3 separate regions of the Homo sapiens genome follow, and regions 2 and 3 are each linked to region 1. The links are contacts of gene promoters, found by promoter capture Hi-C in human tissues and cell types (Jung and others, 2019). All regions are on one chromosome and are shown on one strand. The core of a region is centred on a gene start or on the middle of the fragment in contact, and the rest is flanking DNA. Distances in the headings are between cores, read along the strand shown.

Evidence for each region. Contacts are between HindIII fragments. The study calls those that stand out against the background at their distance.
Region 2: a fragment that was not itself captured here is called in contact with the fragment with the promoter of CAPZA3 in region 1 in 3 of the 25 tissues and cell types used here (dorsolateral prefrontal cortex, mesenchymal stem cells and spleen).
Region 3: a contact is called between a fragment that was not itself captured here and the fragment with the promoter of CAPZA3 in region 1, in 2 of the 25 tissues and cell types used here (lymphoblastoid cells and spleen).

What each region holds. Positions count from the first base shown.
Region 1 is chr12:18,736,188-18,740,869 of GRCh38, reverse strand. It overlaps CAPZA3 (capping actin protein of muscle Z-line subunit alpha 3), which reads right to left and starts at 2,751. Exons shown (of 1, transcript NM_033328.3): 1 at 1,682-2,751. The coding sequence starts at 2,601. The coding sequence ends at 1,702. It overlaps PLCZ1 (phospholipase C zeta 1), which reads left to right and starts at 2,858. Exons shown (of 15, transcript NM_033123.4): 1 at 2,858-2,938; 2 at 3,361-3,509; 3 at 4,526-4,649. The coding sequence starts at 3,499. The HindIII fragment of the contact is 1,043 bases long and covers 2,296-3,338 here.
Region 2 is chr12:18,625,787-18,630,468 of GRCh38, reverse strand. All of the region lies in intron 31 of PIK3C2G (phosphatidylinositol-4-phosphate 3-kinase catalytic subunit type 2 gamma), which reads right to left. Among named protein-coding and RNA genes, the nearest start is that of PLCZ1, 110 kb to the left of the region's middle. The HindIII fragment of the contact is 9,314 bases long and covers 1-4,682 here.
Region 3 is chr12:18,807,943-18,812,624 of GRCh38, reverse strand. The region is part of intron 4 of LOC102724227 (a long non-coding RNA gene); the gene reads right to left. Among named protein-coding and RNA genes, the nearest start is that of CAPZA3, 72 kb to the right of the region's middle. The HindIII fragment of the contact is 4,047 bases long and covers 458-4,504 here.

The DNA of each region.
Region 1 (4,682 bases), core at 1,502-4,001:
CCCAGGTTATTCTCCTGAGATTCTCTAAGAATCATCAGCTGGGGAGGTTTGAGGTTTAGAAATTCTTGCACGGGATCTGAATGCTCCAATGTTAATAAGTAGAATTAGAACTGTTTTTCAATTGCATAAACACAAAATACAAAACACTTTGCTTCTTAGATAAATCAGAATTGGAGGATGGGGCCTACCTACTGCTGTACTGTAATCTTGTTAAAGAGTTTTACATTTGGGAATTTATTGAAAGAGCAGATACCAGTGGTCAGTAACATTGCTAGGAATAGTGGTAGGGTGAGTGTATAGGTGATTTACTCTGGCTAGAAAACAGCTGTCACAAGTTCCATTTCTTCTGGGATATCCTTTAAGGTGGAATGCTTGGCAAAATCAATGTACATCAGAGTCCATAACTCATAATGAAATAGGCTTCCATGGGGAACTGTTGTACCCTGAAGCATGAGCACTAAGTCAGATACACTTGTCACTATGTGGTACGGTCTGATTGTTTGTGTCCCTCAAAATTTATATGTTGAAACTGAGTCCCCGAGGTGATGGTATTAGGAGGTGAGGACTTTGGGAGGTGATTGGCCATGAGAGTGGAGCCCTCATAAACGATATTAGTGCCATTAATAGAAGTTCTACAGAGCTGCTTTGCCCCTTTTACCATGTAAGGTCACAGTCAGAAAGTCCTATCTATGAGGAAACACACCTTTACTAGGCACTAAATCTGCTAGCAACTTGGTCTTGGACTTCACAGCCTCCATAACTGCGACCAATAAATTCCTGTTATTTGTGAGTTACTCAATATATGGTATTTTGTTATAGCAGCACAAGTGAACTGTGACACTATGTGTCTGGAAGATGTGAACAACTTGAGAACTTAGGTTTTTCTTAGGTACAACGGAGATAATACTAGTACCAGATTAGTGATGAAAAATGTTATGCAAAATATTTAGCACAAGCCATGTTATGTAATAAGTACTTCTAAGTGTTTACAGTGACGACTTCACAAAAGCCTGGCTGTAAAAGTTTGGGAAGTCAGGCTTCTCTGGTTGGCTTGGAAGACCATGTTAGTTATCAGACAAGCCAGGGATTTTGAGTAACCCCAATTCTTGAGGGGAAGAAAGTAGAGTGGAAGAGGAGCCAAAATTACTAATAGTCCTTCATCTGAGCTAGATTTTTGATATCTGTTGGTTTTGTGGAAAATCCAAACCTAATGTCTTTTATTGAAATTCCCCATCTCGTGGATGGTCTAGGACTGAATTGAGTTATGTAAAATATCATTTGTGGAGTGATATTCATTTGTATACCTTTTCAGTTCGAAACAGTCAAAAGTCTCTCTCTCTCTCTCTCTCTCTCTCTCACACACACACACACACACACACACACACACGTACACACCCACACACAGCCTTAACCCTGGCCACCTCTATACTATTTCTGGAATCCCAGATTCTATAAAACTATTTTAGTTTCTAACAAATGTCTTGGTCTTTATGATGGTCACCACCATGAAACACAGTTACTTTACACTTTCTTGCCTTGTTCATAAATATTCCCCAAGTAAAATTACTTGCTACACTTTTCCCATTTAAATTTGCATTGGCTAAGTGAGAGACATCTCTACAGATTGCTCAATTTTAGGAAAATAACCATTCCCAAGAAACACAAACAAGTCAAATCAAGATAGTTACCAGGAGCAATTCTTTATATTATCCAGTTGCACAACACACTTCTTGAATAAATGACATATCCTAATTTAGGATACATCACCAGATTCAAGTCAGAGAGTATCCTGTGCCAGTCAATAAGAGTGCGGGTCACTGGAAGATCCCTTCGTAGAATTTTTCTCAGGGCTTCATTGGATAACTCCTGTAATTCTTCCAAGACTGCAGCTTGAAATTTGTTCTCTTGCTCTTCCACAAGCCTTGCAAAACTTAGAGCCAGTTGAGCTTGGTTAACTATTTCCAAGCTTTCTTTCAGGTCCTTGGATATTTCAATATGAAGGTTGACACACCTGAAGAAGTGAGCTTGCACAAATATTCTTCCCGTTACTTGGGTTAGAAATGGGTTAACTTGGAAAATCCATTTAGATTTCCAAAGTCCGTTCCAGCACTCTCCTGTTTCATAGTTGTGATCTTCAATGCAAGCTATCAAGTACTCCTTACTTTTGACAGTTTTTCTCAGCATGTTGCAATTTCCTTTTGGATAGTGGTCATTCACATACAGTTTTAAGGCGCACAGAAGAACAACTCTCAGGTATTCTGCCTCATTCTGAATGATACCATGACTTTGGATGTCTTTCAGCTGATTTTGAAGCAGGTCATATTTGAAAGAAAGTTTGCTTTGATGGTCAAAAAATCGGTAGTCGCCCATTACATTGTGGTGAGACAAGAGTACTGGATTTCCATCGATGCAGAGTGGTACAGAATATTTTTGGCAGTGTTGGTGGCCTGCACACTCACCTTGGTGGTGCATAAGTTTTTCATCACGGATAAGCAGACAGAGATCATCAAAGGCATTTACAAATTCCCCTGGAGGGGCCTGTAATAACAGTCTGCGAATTACTCTTTCCTTGTCCTTCCTGCTCAGCACGCTAAGTGTCATGTTTGGTTGCAACAGAAGCAAAGCTTCTGAAATGAGGAGTGTTCAAAGGATAAGAAAACATTCCATGAGCCACCTTTCCCATCAAGGTGTTAACATTCAAGCTGAAGGTTTTTATGTCTATCCATGAAAGCAGGCAGTCTGGCAAGGTCTGAGCCTCCTGATGAGGTCATAAGAAGCTTTCCTTGTGAAGTGTGGAACCTCTGATGATATCACAATGGGAATTCAGACCAAAAGGAAAAAATGACAGTCACCTGACAGTGTGGTGCCCAGCCAACCAGCTATACCTCTTTTGAAGATTTTAAGAACTTAGCCTCCTGAACAGTCTTCTTCGAAAGTGGTGTGTCTCTGTGTGCATTATATGTTGTCAACGATCTAGAGAAGCAGCCCAAAGTTTCAAGAGTGACAGCACTTTGCAACTTCAGGAATCACAATGGTGTTGATTTATACTCAGGCTCTCAGAGTAGCTGCCCAAACCCACTGGAAGCATATTATGATGAAAGGTTTGAGGGGTTTAAACAAAGTAGTAAAAAATAAAAGGAGATACAATGGCAGTTCATGGAAAAATGCCAGACATCAGGGAAAGCTGTGTTTTCAAATATTGTGGGTTTGGAGGTGGTCAGAACGTAAGAAGCCAAACAGTTTCAAGGGCAGGGTAGTGCAGGTACCACATCTTGCATACTGTTTCTATGGTTAAGTGTGAGCTAGCTTCAAAGAACGAAGGCAAAAAAAACCACTGTGTGTTCTCTGCTTTCTCCCTAGAAAAGTGGTAACAGCTGATGAGTATCAAGAAATTATTTTCTGCAAAGGGGCAGAGTTAATTGTATTTGGAACCCATGACAGCACCTACTGGGGAAAGACTTCTAAGTGAGGAGAAACGGCTCTACAGGTCATGAAACTATGGAAATGAGATATCCATTGAGAGCTTCTTTCTGCTCCTCTTCTTCTTTCTCCTACTTATCCTCTTTACTTGATGCTGTTATTCTTTTCGAGGAGTTCTGAATTTAAGTCCTCTTCATTTAAGTTGAACTGCTTTTCCCTGTTTGTTCTGAGCTTTTCTAACTTTCCCTGCATTCTGGTATCTTTTTCTTACAAGAACATGAGCTTTGCTGGATTAAGTCATAACTATTAAATTTAAGGAGATCTCATTAATTCGTTCTAACAATCTGAAACTTAGTAGTTTTGCACAATTTTTACCTATACCTTTTATAATTTTAGTGATAATTGTCATTATCTCATTTCGATCTTAGTTTTTCAAATGGAAGTGTCCTAGTTTTTGTAGTTTATCTATGATAAGTAAGCTTTTAAAAATTTTTTTCGTTTTTCATACCAAATATACACTCACCATGGTATTTCTGATGCTTTTTGATGGTACTGTCTTGAGTGTGTGTGTAGCTGGGCATTGGACTAATGTAGTAATAATAACTTTATCAGTCATGGTTACTATTTATTGAACACTAAGTAGCAGAAACTGTGTTCGGTGGCATATTAGGAATTCATCTAATGCTTCCACTTTCCTTAAGATTCAGGGTTAATTTGCTCACCTTTCTGGAAGAGAGAACTAAAACAGAGAGGTCAGGTGAGAGGCGATCTTGAAGTCTAGCTGCCTTCCAACTTCATGCCTTCAGGCAATAGATTGTTATAATGTTTTAATGTATGTTCTAAGTAATGACTTCAATTCTCAAATTTTAACTTTAATTCTTTTTTTTGTATTTTTACTGTGCTATGCCCTTTCATACCTTTACCATAGCATAGTAACTACTTAATTTTGTTTTTTAAAAAATATTTATCATACAATTATACTATAATTTACTTTAAACATATTCTTTAAAAATAAAAATAATACAGTAAATCAAATGTTTCTTTAGGAATTTTAAATATTCAATGACTTTCTGTGAGAATTTCCTTAACTTTTTTGTGCTTCTACATGGTTTTTGTCAAAGATTCAGGATGACTTCAGAGGTGGAAAAATTAACCTAGAAAAAACTCAGAGGTTACTTGAAAAATTAGATATTCGGTGCAGTTATATTCATGTGAAACAGATTTTTAAGGTAAGATGACATCCACCCCCTGCCTATCCTATC
Region 2 (4,682 bases), core at 981-3,480, 110 kb after region 1:
TTAAAAGTTTTTGCTTGGAATCAGGCTTCCTTTCATCTTATTCTTTTGTTGTTTTTGTTTTTGTTTATTTTGTTTTTGAGAAAAAATCCCGCTCTGTTACCCGGGCTGGGGTGCAGTGGCATGATCTCGGCTCACTGCAACCTCCCTCTCCCAGGTTTGAGTGATTCTCCTGCCTCAGCCTCCCAAGTAGCTGAAACTATAGGCATGAGTCACTATGTCTGGCTAATTTATTATATTTTTAGTAGAGACAGGGTTTCACCATGTTGGCCAGGCTGGTGTCAAATTCCTGACCTCAAGGAATCTGCCTGGGATTATAGGTATGAGCCACCGCACCTGGCCCCCTTCATCTTATTCTTTACTTTCATAGTCATGCCTTCCCTTCATAATGTTCCTTTCTTTTATAGCAAATCCTTTCCTTAACACAGTGCTTGGTAGAGGGTGGATACTAAATAGTTATTAAATGACTGAGTCAATGAGGTGTGTATTAATAATATTTAGCTCTTTGAAAGTACTTCAGAGTTATTTGTTGAATCATCATTTGTAATGTAATATAAAAAAGATATTTAATTGAAATAGTTCCTGTTATCTATTGCAATATTTCTTATTGTAATACCAAGGAATAAAATGTCTATCATAGGGTAAAGTGAAAATATCTCGGGTTTATCCTAGGTGTTTACCCTAAACAGCTAGCCATCTGAAGGCATGTCTCTGATAGAAGTGACTTTCTCCTGCACATCATTTGGATTTTGTGGCTAATCAGGAGTAATCATGTCAAAGTCTGCTTGTCTCAATGCTCCACTTCTAAACTTTTGGCCTTATCCTATCTCTGAGTCAATATTAGGCAATTACACGCCAACTACCCTTCTTTATCCCCTCTACTCCCAACTGGAGCCAGACTTTATTTGTAACAGCATTATTCAAACTTAGTCCCAGAATTAATCCTTAGTCACCATCCTCCTCACTTTCTTTTAGAGACTTCATCTCTAATTGTGTTCCTTCCTTGGGGCCTTGTTTACTCCTCTGTGATATGCCTCATCACCTCTCCGGGTTTCTCCACCTTAACTCCTTGAAAATCTAGGCAATGAGCACAAGAAGTTCTTAAAATCTCCTAGGAGCTGATGATGACCTGACCATTTCTTAGGGACCTTGTAGGCAGAGACTGTGAGCTAAAGTTACATTTTTGTGCTGTATTCCTGTGCCCTCTCTCATATCTGTGCAAGTTCTCCCTCTCTGTTGTGCAGTACAAGGAAGAAACAAAAGAAAATCAGCACATTCCTTTGCTCTGGTGATATTAAGTTATTCAAAATTTATTGGAGAGGCATCGTATGGTGACCCATGGTTAGGCCAGGGGGCTGGATCCATGTTAACACCAAACATTCTCCACAGAGGGAATTAATACATTTCACTCAAGTTTGCTATTATTTTGTCAAATATATGTAAATGCTCTTGTTACCACAATTTTAATATTTTTAAAAGCACTGCTACATTTATAGTGGTTTTAAAAATTATTTTATATTTCTTAAATTATCAGATTATTTTTTCAGAGATGGGGTCTCACTACATTGCCTCAGCTGGCTTCCAACTCTCTGGCTCAAAAAATCCTCCTGCCTCAGCCTCCCAAGTAGCTGGAACTACCATGCCACTGTGCCCAGATAAATTATAAGATATTAAAAAGATTTCAGGGACACTTGATAGATAATTTTCTCTAAGTTTAAAAAGGTGTCCCACTACTTGGAAAGATTGGAAATGAAGACCTTAGGATCTTCTTAGAATTCACTAGTGAGGATACTTCTTTCTCAACTGAAGAGAGGAATACAGGGGATTCTTAGCTTAGTTATTATTTCAGGTTGCAAAACTTAAAATCTATGATGCATATTAGTAATTCTTTGTTCACAATGTTGACCTCTAAATGGTATTGTTTTAAGTACATGAATAATTAAATATACCAATCTTCTGCCTTTGTTTCTTGCCCCAGATTGCATATAGCATTTCAAATGGCTTTCAATGCTACTATTGTTCTTATCACCAACAAATTAAAATTATCTTAAAAACATGGGTAATATATCAAAACAGAAAAAAAGCAGTAGCATGTTAGTACAAAAACAAAGCACATTTTAAACTGTTTATAAAGTAAGTGAAACATCTAATATTATGGGGTATGCCAGCAACTCTTCAGTATTTTCATATGTGTATATGGGGAAAATATTTATTTTGCACTCATAGTAATAATAACAATAATAATAGCTATTACATAATGACTATTTACTATATTTAAAGAACTCTATTAAAATAATCCTCAGGCCAGGATTATCAGCTTCAGTTTATTGAGGAGGTTTTTCTATATAACCTATGTTCCTAATCACGATCCTATATTGATTCACTACAAAGAAAGACCAAGAAAGAAAGAGCACTTCTAGATCAAGTTTTACCAGGAATGTGATGAAGATACAGACGTGGTTTAAAAATATCAGATGCATTGGAAACTTCTGTAGATTAATCTAAGGCTTAATTGTATTTAATAGGTTATTATCTTTTCAATGAATAATTTATGAGAATTTTTCATCTTTTCTTTAGCTTAAATGTCTCCAATCATAGGATAATATAAGCTTTAGTGGAAATCAACTGATGATTAAAATATGATGGAACTATCAAAACCTGAGGTCTATACCAGAAACAAAACAACATAATATAAAAGCATTTTCTCATCTATGTGCCTGTCACATTGCAGTTTTTAAATTCAGGTTAGCCATCATGAAAAGGGTCTGTTTATAAAATAATAGTGTATAATAAAAGCACTTGCGATATGATTTGTTTTTGTGCCTCAGTTAAATGGTAGAATGAATAATGGCTGAGGAGTGATGTCAGCAAGATGGGGCAGAATAGGAGGTCACCTACTTATATCTCCTTACAACAAGAATTCTGCACCCATCCACAGGTCTATCTCTGTCAAAGAACACTTGTAAAGGCCAGAAAAGGTGGCTGCCTCCACAAATGCACAAACACCAATGCAAGGACACAGGTTTACAAAAACTCAAGGAATCATGGCATCTCAAAAAGAAACCAAAAATGCTCCAGCAATGACGCCCAAAGAAAGGGATATCTAAGAAATGACAGAAAAATAATTCAGAATAACTCCGTAAAATAATTCAATGAACTCCAAGAATATATGGGCAAAAAGTAAAATTTGGAAAACAGTACTTGAACAAAATGAGAAGTTTGAGAAAGAAATAGAAATGATTTTAAAACCCCAAAAATAAATCATAGAGAAGAAGAATATAATGACTGAACTGAAAAAATGCAATAGAAATTTTCAACAGCCAGTGAAATCACACTGAAGAATCAGTGAGTGTGAAGACAGAACATTTGAAATTATCCAAGCAGAGGAGCAAAAAGAAAAAAAAAATGGAAGAAGGAAAATTTATGGGAATGTTGGTACACCATCAAGAGACCCAAGCCATGAGTAAAAGGAATTAAATACAGAGAGGAGGAATACAAGGGTCACAAAGCATATTTAAAGAAATAATGGATGATAAGTTCCCTAATATGACCAAAAAAGCTAACATCCAAATATAGGAACCACAGAAATCTCCAATCAAATTCAGAATTCAACACAACATATAAGAATCAAACTATTAAAAAAATCAAAGAAAAAATTCTGAGAGCAGCAAAAGGAGTCCCAATACAACTACCAGCAAACTTCTTAGCAGAAACCCTTCAGTCCAGGAGAGAGAGTGGGATGATATAGTAGAAGTGCTGAAAGAAGAAAAAGCCTACCAACCAAGACTATTTTACCCAGAAAATCTGTCTTTCAAAAATAAGGAAGAAATAAAAACTTTCCCAGACAAACCATGCCATGGGAGTTAATCATCATTAGGCTTGCATTACAGAAATTATTAAAGGGAGTTCTTTAAACTGAAAGAAAAATTTGTTAGCTAATAACATGAAACTTATGAAATCATGAAATCTAATGGTATAAATAATACCGAACAACATTCAGAACACTCTTAAGACTATAACGGTGGTGTGTAAAGTAATATTATCCCAGGCACAAAGACAAAATTATTAATAAGAACTATAGCTAAAATAAACTGTCAAGGAATACATATTACAAAATAATATATATTCAGACATAAAAAACATAAAATGGTGTGTGAGGAGAAAAGTATAGAGTTGTTGTATGCAATGAAAGTTACATTGTTATTGGCTTGAAATAGACTGTTGTAAGCGAAAGATATTATTTGTAAGCATCAGGGTAACCAAGGAGAAAAAATCTATAGAAAATGCACAAAACACAAATAAAAATATTGAAAACATACTACTACAGAAAACCATCAATCCACAAAGAAAGACAGCAACAGAGGAAGAAAAAAACCAAGTATCTACACATAAATAAAACAATACAGTTAGTAACAAAATGATACTAGTAAGTCTTTACCTGTCAATACTTACTTTGAATGTAAATGTATTAAATTCTTTAATAAAAGATACAAAGTGAGGTAATGGATAAAAAAATACAGGATCTAACTATATGCTGTCTGCAAGACGTTCACTTCACTTTTAAGGACACACAGACTAAAAGTGAGGGGATGAAAAACAATAGTCTGTGAAAACTGAAACCAAAAAAGAGCAGGGGTAGCAATACTTATATCAGACAAAATAGACTTTAAATAAAAAACTGCAAA
Region 3 (4,682 bases), core at 1,232-3,731, 72 kb before region 1:
ATGAGTATCTCAGTCCTGAAAGTATTCTGAGTGGCACACTACAGCATCCACTACATATAGAAAACAAAACGAATTGGCTTAAGTTAAAAAAAAAAACTGTAAAGGGAAGCTTATTGGAAGAATTCTGGCATAAGGCATGGAATCTAAACATGTGTTGAACATCTAGAAAGGCAGGAAGCAGACTGACTCTAGAGATTTCAGATGAATAAGTGTTGCTGTTAATTTGATTCCTCTTCAATAACTGCTAATCTTGTTTTGAATTTCTCACTCTCCAATTTTGAATTCTTACGATAGAAAAGGTGATTGACTCAGTTTAGGCCAGGCATCTTCCCTCAATCAGTCAATATAGTCATTGAGGTAGAATCATGTTTCAGAGATATGGCCTCAAAGAACCCATTCTACCTAGGGAGGGTTTACCCAGATGAGGGGGATTCACTGTGAATCTAGCAGCCTGCCTAAAAGGTATTTAGTTATATTTTCCCTTTTATTTCTCATGAAGATATGAAGTTTTTACATTTTTGCAACCGTATTTTTTCAAAACCAAAATTTATTGCACTTTCTGATAATTTTGGCATATATTGCCTAAGTTACCATTATGTATCCTATATAAAGCCAAGGTGCTCATAGCTCAGTCCTGTGTGAATTGCAGTTCAAGAAATATTTTCTGTAGCTAGGGATTTATTTCTAATTGGATTAATTTGAAGCATTTCAAATCTTTACTATTGTTAATGGAAAATATATACACTGAGGGGAAAGTAAAGCATGTTATACTGCAGAACTCACCAAAGCTCCTTCAAAAAAAAGCTTTTCTATTACAATTCTTGAAAATTCCAAGGGAAATTTAGTGCCGATGCTCTGAAAGTCCCCTTACATTTCTCCTTCAATATCTCTCTTATGGTAGATTGATGACATTGATGATGTCATTACATTGATCCGCTCCCTGCATCCACACCTGTAGTAGCTTGTTACATTAATAGTCCCTAATAATCATATTTCTCTGTATGCACACCCTCCTAAACTGATCCTGGGCTTGGTTCTGTGATTTTTCTTTGACCACACAACTTGCTTTGGCTGATGGGACTTTAGCAATCATGACCACAAAGCACTTGTGCAATAGAATATGCCCTCTCTTGTCACTTTTGTAAACCAGCCATCATGAGAAATCCTGGGTTACTCTGTCGATGATACACGATCCAGCTGATAGCAAGCACCAACTCAGACACATGTGTCAGGACATCTTACATTATCTAATCTCAGCTACGTTGTTGGTTGAGCCTCCAGAAGAGTAACTCTGAATAGTAAGCAAATTAAATGGCAGTTGTGTTATGTTACTAAGTTTTGGGGTAAATTTTTAATGGAGCAGTAGATATTTAACAGAGTACCCTCTGCCTTTGACTTTATATTTTCTCTTGCTAACAAGAACGAGTCTATTTTTACCTCTCTTAATTCTGGTTTGTCCCTGGGACTTGCTTTGAACAACGAGATGTTAGCAGATATGACGCAATAGAGGCTTTAAAAAGTACATTTGTGTTTTTGCTATATCTCTTGCTTCTCTTTGTTATGAAAAAGCCTGACTTGCTGGAGAAGAGACCCAGTTCTGAATTGCTCCAGCTCCCACGGAGGCTATCCAAGATCAGCTGATTCGCAGCTGATGGCCAGACACGTGAGTGCGCCCAGCTAAGGCTGGAACTGTCATGCCAACCTCAGTCTAAATTGATAACCCACAGACGTGTAAGCTCAATAAATGCCTATTGTTTTGAGCCATGAGTTTTGGGGTAAATTGTTATGCAGCATTACTATGACAATGGATAACTAATGCATCTCTGTTGCCTAAATGTTATGCACTCACGGCAGCTGCAAAAACACTGTCTTATCTATCCAAATGTCCCCATATGGTCCTCTCACTGCTCTAATTTTCTCAGTTCATCATCTTTTCTCAAGCCCATCTTAGTGACTCAGGTCTGAACTTGATTATTTAGTCCTGTTCCCAAAAGGCCTCTAGCATCACCTGCTACCTGATGAGCTTCATAAGTCTGAGATTTATGCGGCCTCTCAGTTTGATGATGAAACTCAGAATTTTTGAATAATTGATGGATAAAAATCACATTCACTGGGACTGATCCAATCAATTCTAATGCTGCTTGATAGCTGGCCCACTGCAGCAGTCCCTCCAACAGAAACACAAAATGGAACATTTCTTCTCATTTTAATGTTAATCATGAATTCCATATGCAAATTCTTGCTACTTCATACCCTGCTATACTAGCTTTCTAGGGGAGGGAAACAGTCTACCAGGGACATAAAGAGTCTGGTGTTTTTGATTCCTGAAATAAATGTAAATGCTGGGTCCTATATGTTCCCACTCACTCCTCTAGTATTATCAGTTACTAATATTTGCCATCTTTCCAGCATTTTCAGTGTTGTGTGCCAGTCATGAGTCAAATGACTCCCCCTGAGGTGGGACCATCTGGAAATTTCTCTATTTATGGAATCAGTAGTCTGTATCCATGTAAAGGCTACGTGGACCAGTTGAAAGACCGAGAGCAGCCACCGCGTCTCCACAGAGCCAGTCAGTAAAGCAGAAATACAAATTTGAACCAGTCCAAGCGTGTCTGATCTTTCTCTCTTTCTTGTGCCAAAAATAATTCTAATTTCTTTTTTTTTTTTTTGAGACAGAGTTTCACTCTTGTTTCCCAGGCTGCAGAGCGATGGCACAATCTCAGCTCACTGCAACCTCTGCCTCCCAGGTTCAAGCAAGTCTCCTGCCTCAGCCACCCAAGTAGCTGGGATTACAGGCATGCACCACCACACCCGGCTAATTTTGTATTTTTAATAGAGATGGGGTTTCTCCATGTTGGTCAGGCTGGTCTCGAACTCCCAGCCTCAGGTGATCCGCCCGCCTCAGCTTCCCAAAGTGCTGGGATTACAGGCGTGAGCCTCCACACACGGCCAATAATTCTACTCTCTAAAATGTAGTAAGTATGGCCGGGCGCAGTGGCTCACGCCTGTAATCTCTGCACTTTGGGAGGCCGAGGCAGGTGGATCACGAGGTCAGGAGATTGAGACCATCCTGGCCAACACAGTGAAACCCCGTCGCTACTAAAAAAAAACCACAAAAAATTAGCCGGGCGTGGTGGCGGGCACCTGTAGTCCCAGCTACTCAGGAGGCTAGGCAGGAGAATGGTGTGAACCCAAGAGGCAGAGCTTGCAGTGAGCCGAGATGGCGCCACTGCACTCCATCCTGGGTGACAGAGCGAGACTCTGTCTCAAAAAAAAAAAAAAAAAAAGTAGTAAGTATGCATTGTGTCTGGGTTCAAAACTAATATTCAACTTTGTGAGTGAGCTGTTTATATGTTCTCATTTAGTAAATTCATGAAATGTTATGTGATATTGGTCTCTGCCTGGATCGTCCATTCTTGAACCATGCTTTCTCTCATAAACTGCAATTCCAAGCTCAGCATGATCTCCTCAATGCCCCTCTGAATCACCCATGCTAGTCTAAGCTGCTCACCCAGCTAAATGATTATTAACATGAAAGGGCAAATTCCTGTTTATAGGGATAGTTTTTCCTCAAATTCAGAATATAACATATTCATGTCATACATGTGTTATTTAACATACTTTTTATGATAAATATTGTCATCCTTGAGATTAAAAAATCCACTGCATATAAGAAGTCTTTGTTTCTGTAAGATATGAATAATACATTATTAAAAGCAGTCATAATCATTGCTCACTTAACAGAGTAATGTCTATTTCAGTTGCCTCAATAGGGCTTAAGATGGGTTGGATCATTAACAGTATGGAAAGGAACTATAAGTTTAATGTATAAGATATACTATAGTGTCCAATTGGTTTTTTAAAGGCTCTTTTTCTGATTCTTGGCAACAATTAAACTATACTTCATGTGGTACTGAATTAACCAGAAGTAGCAGGATCATTTTACACCTATAGTTAGTACTTTTCCTATTTAAGGTGAACTGGACTACGGTATCTCTAGAAATATTCTGCTTTGCCTAAATGATGCGTTGCATACTAACTGCAATGCAATGCCATTTTCCTGCTGATCACTCTGTATTGTCCTAGATGTCTTTTCTCTTATGATTGGCCGCCATTTGGCAGTGGCTACTTAAGCCACTTTCCTCATAAGAGAGTTCAGTAAATAAACACTTAAATGCACCAGGGGTGTAGCTTTTACAAAGTCCTTGGTAATTCACATAATCACCCCCTAATGTTTTATAAGAATCTTTGAGCAAAGCTTGCTGTTATACTGTCCCATGGGGTAAGAGCACTTCCCCCAAAGATAATGTGAACACATGTTTTAAAGTCTATTACATGGTTTGAAGTAAATGGTATGTAGAGGGAAAAAATAATAAAGTTCAAATAAGCAAGCACACAGTTTTCAATAACATTGGACGATTTCTACTGAGAATTGATATCTAAAAGATTCATGGCATGTCAATTTAACAGAAGGAAGCACAAGCCAATGGGAAAAGTTGAAAGAATGAAATTGACATAAGCAAGAAAAAAGGAGGAGGGGTTCTCCAAACAGGGTGAGTTCAATATTAAAAAAAAAATCAAATAAAATCAAGAGGGTAGGATTTTATAAAGTATTCTTAAGTCCCTCGTCTTAATAACTTCTCCTTTCCTCTCCCAGGAGGCCTGCATCTGTGACAGTAATA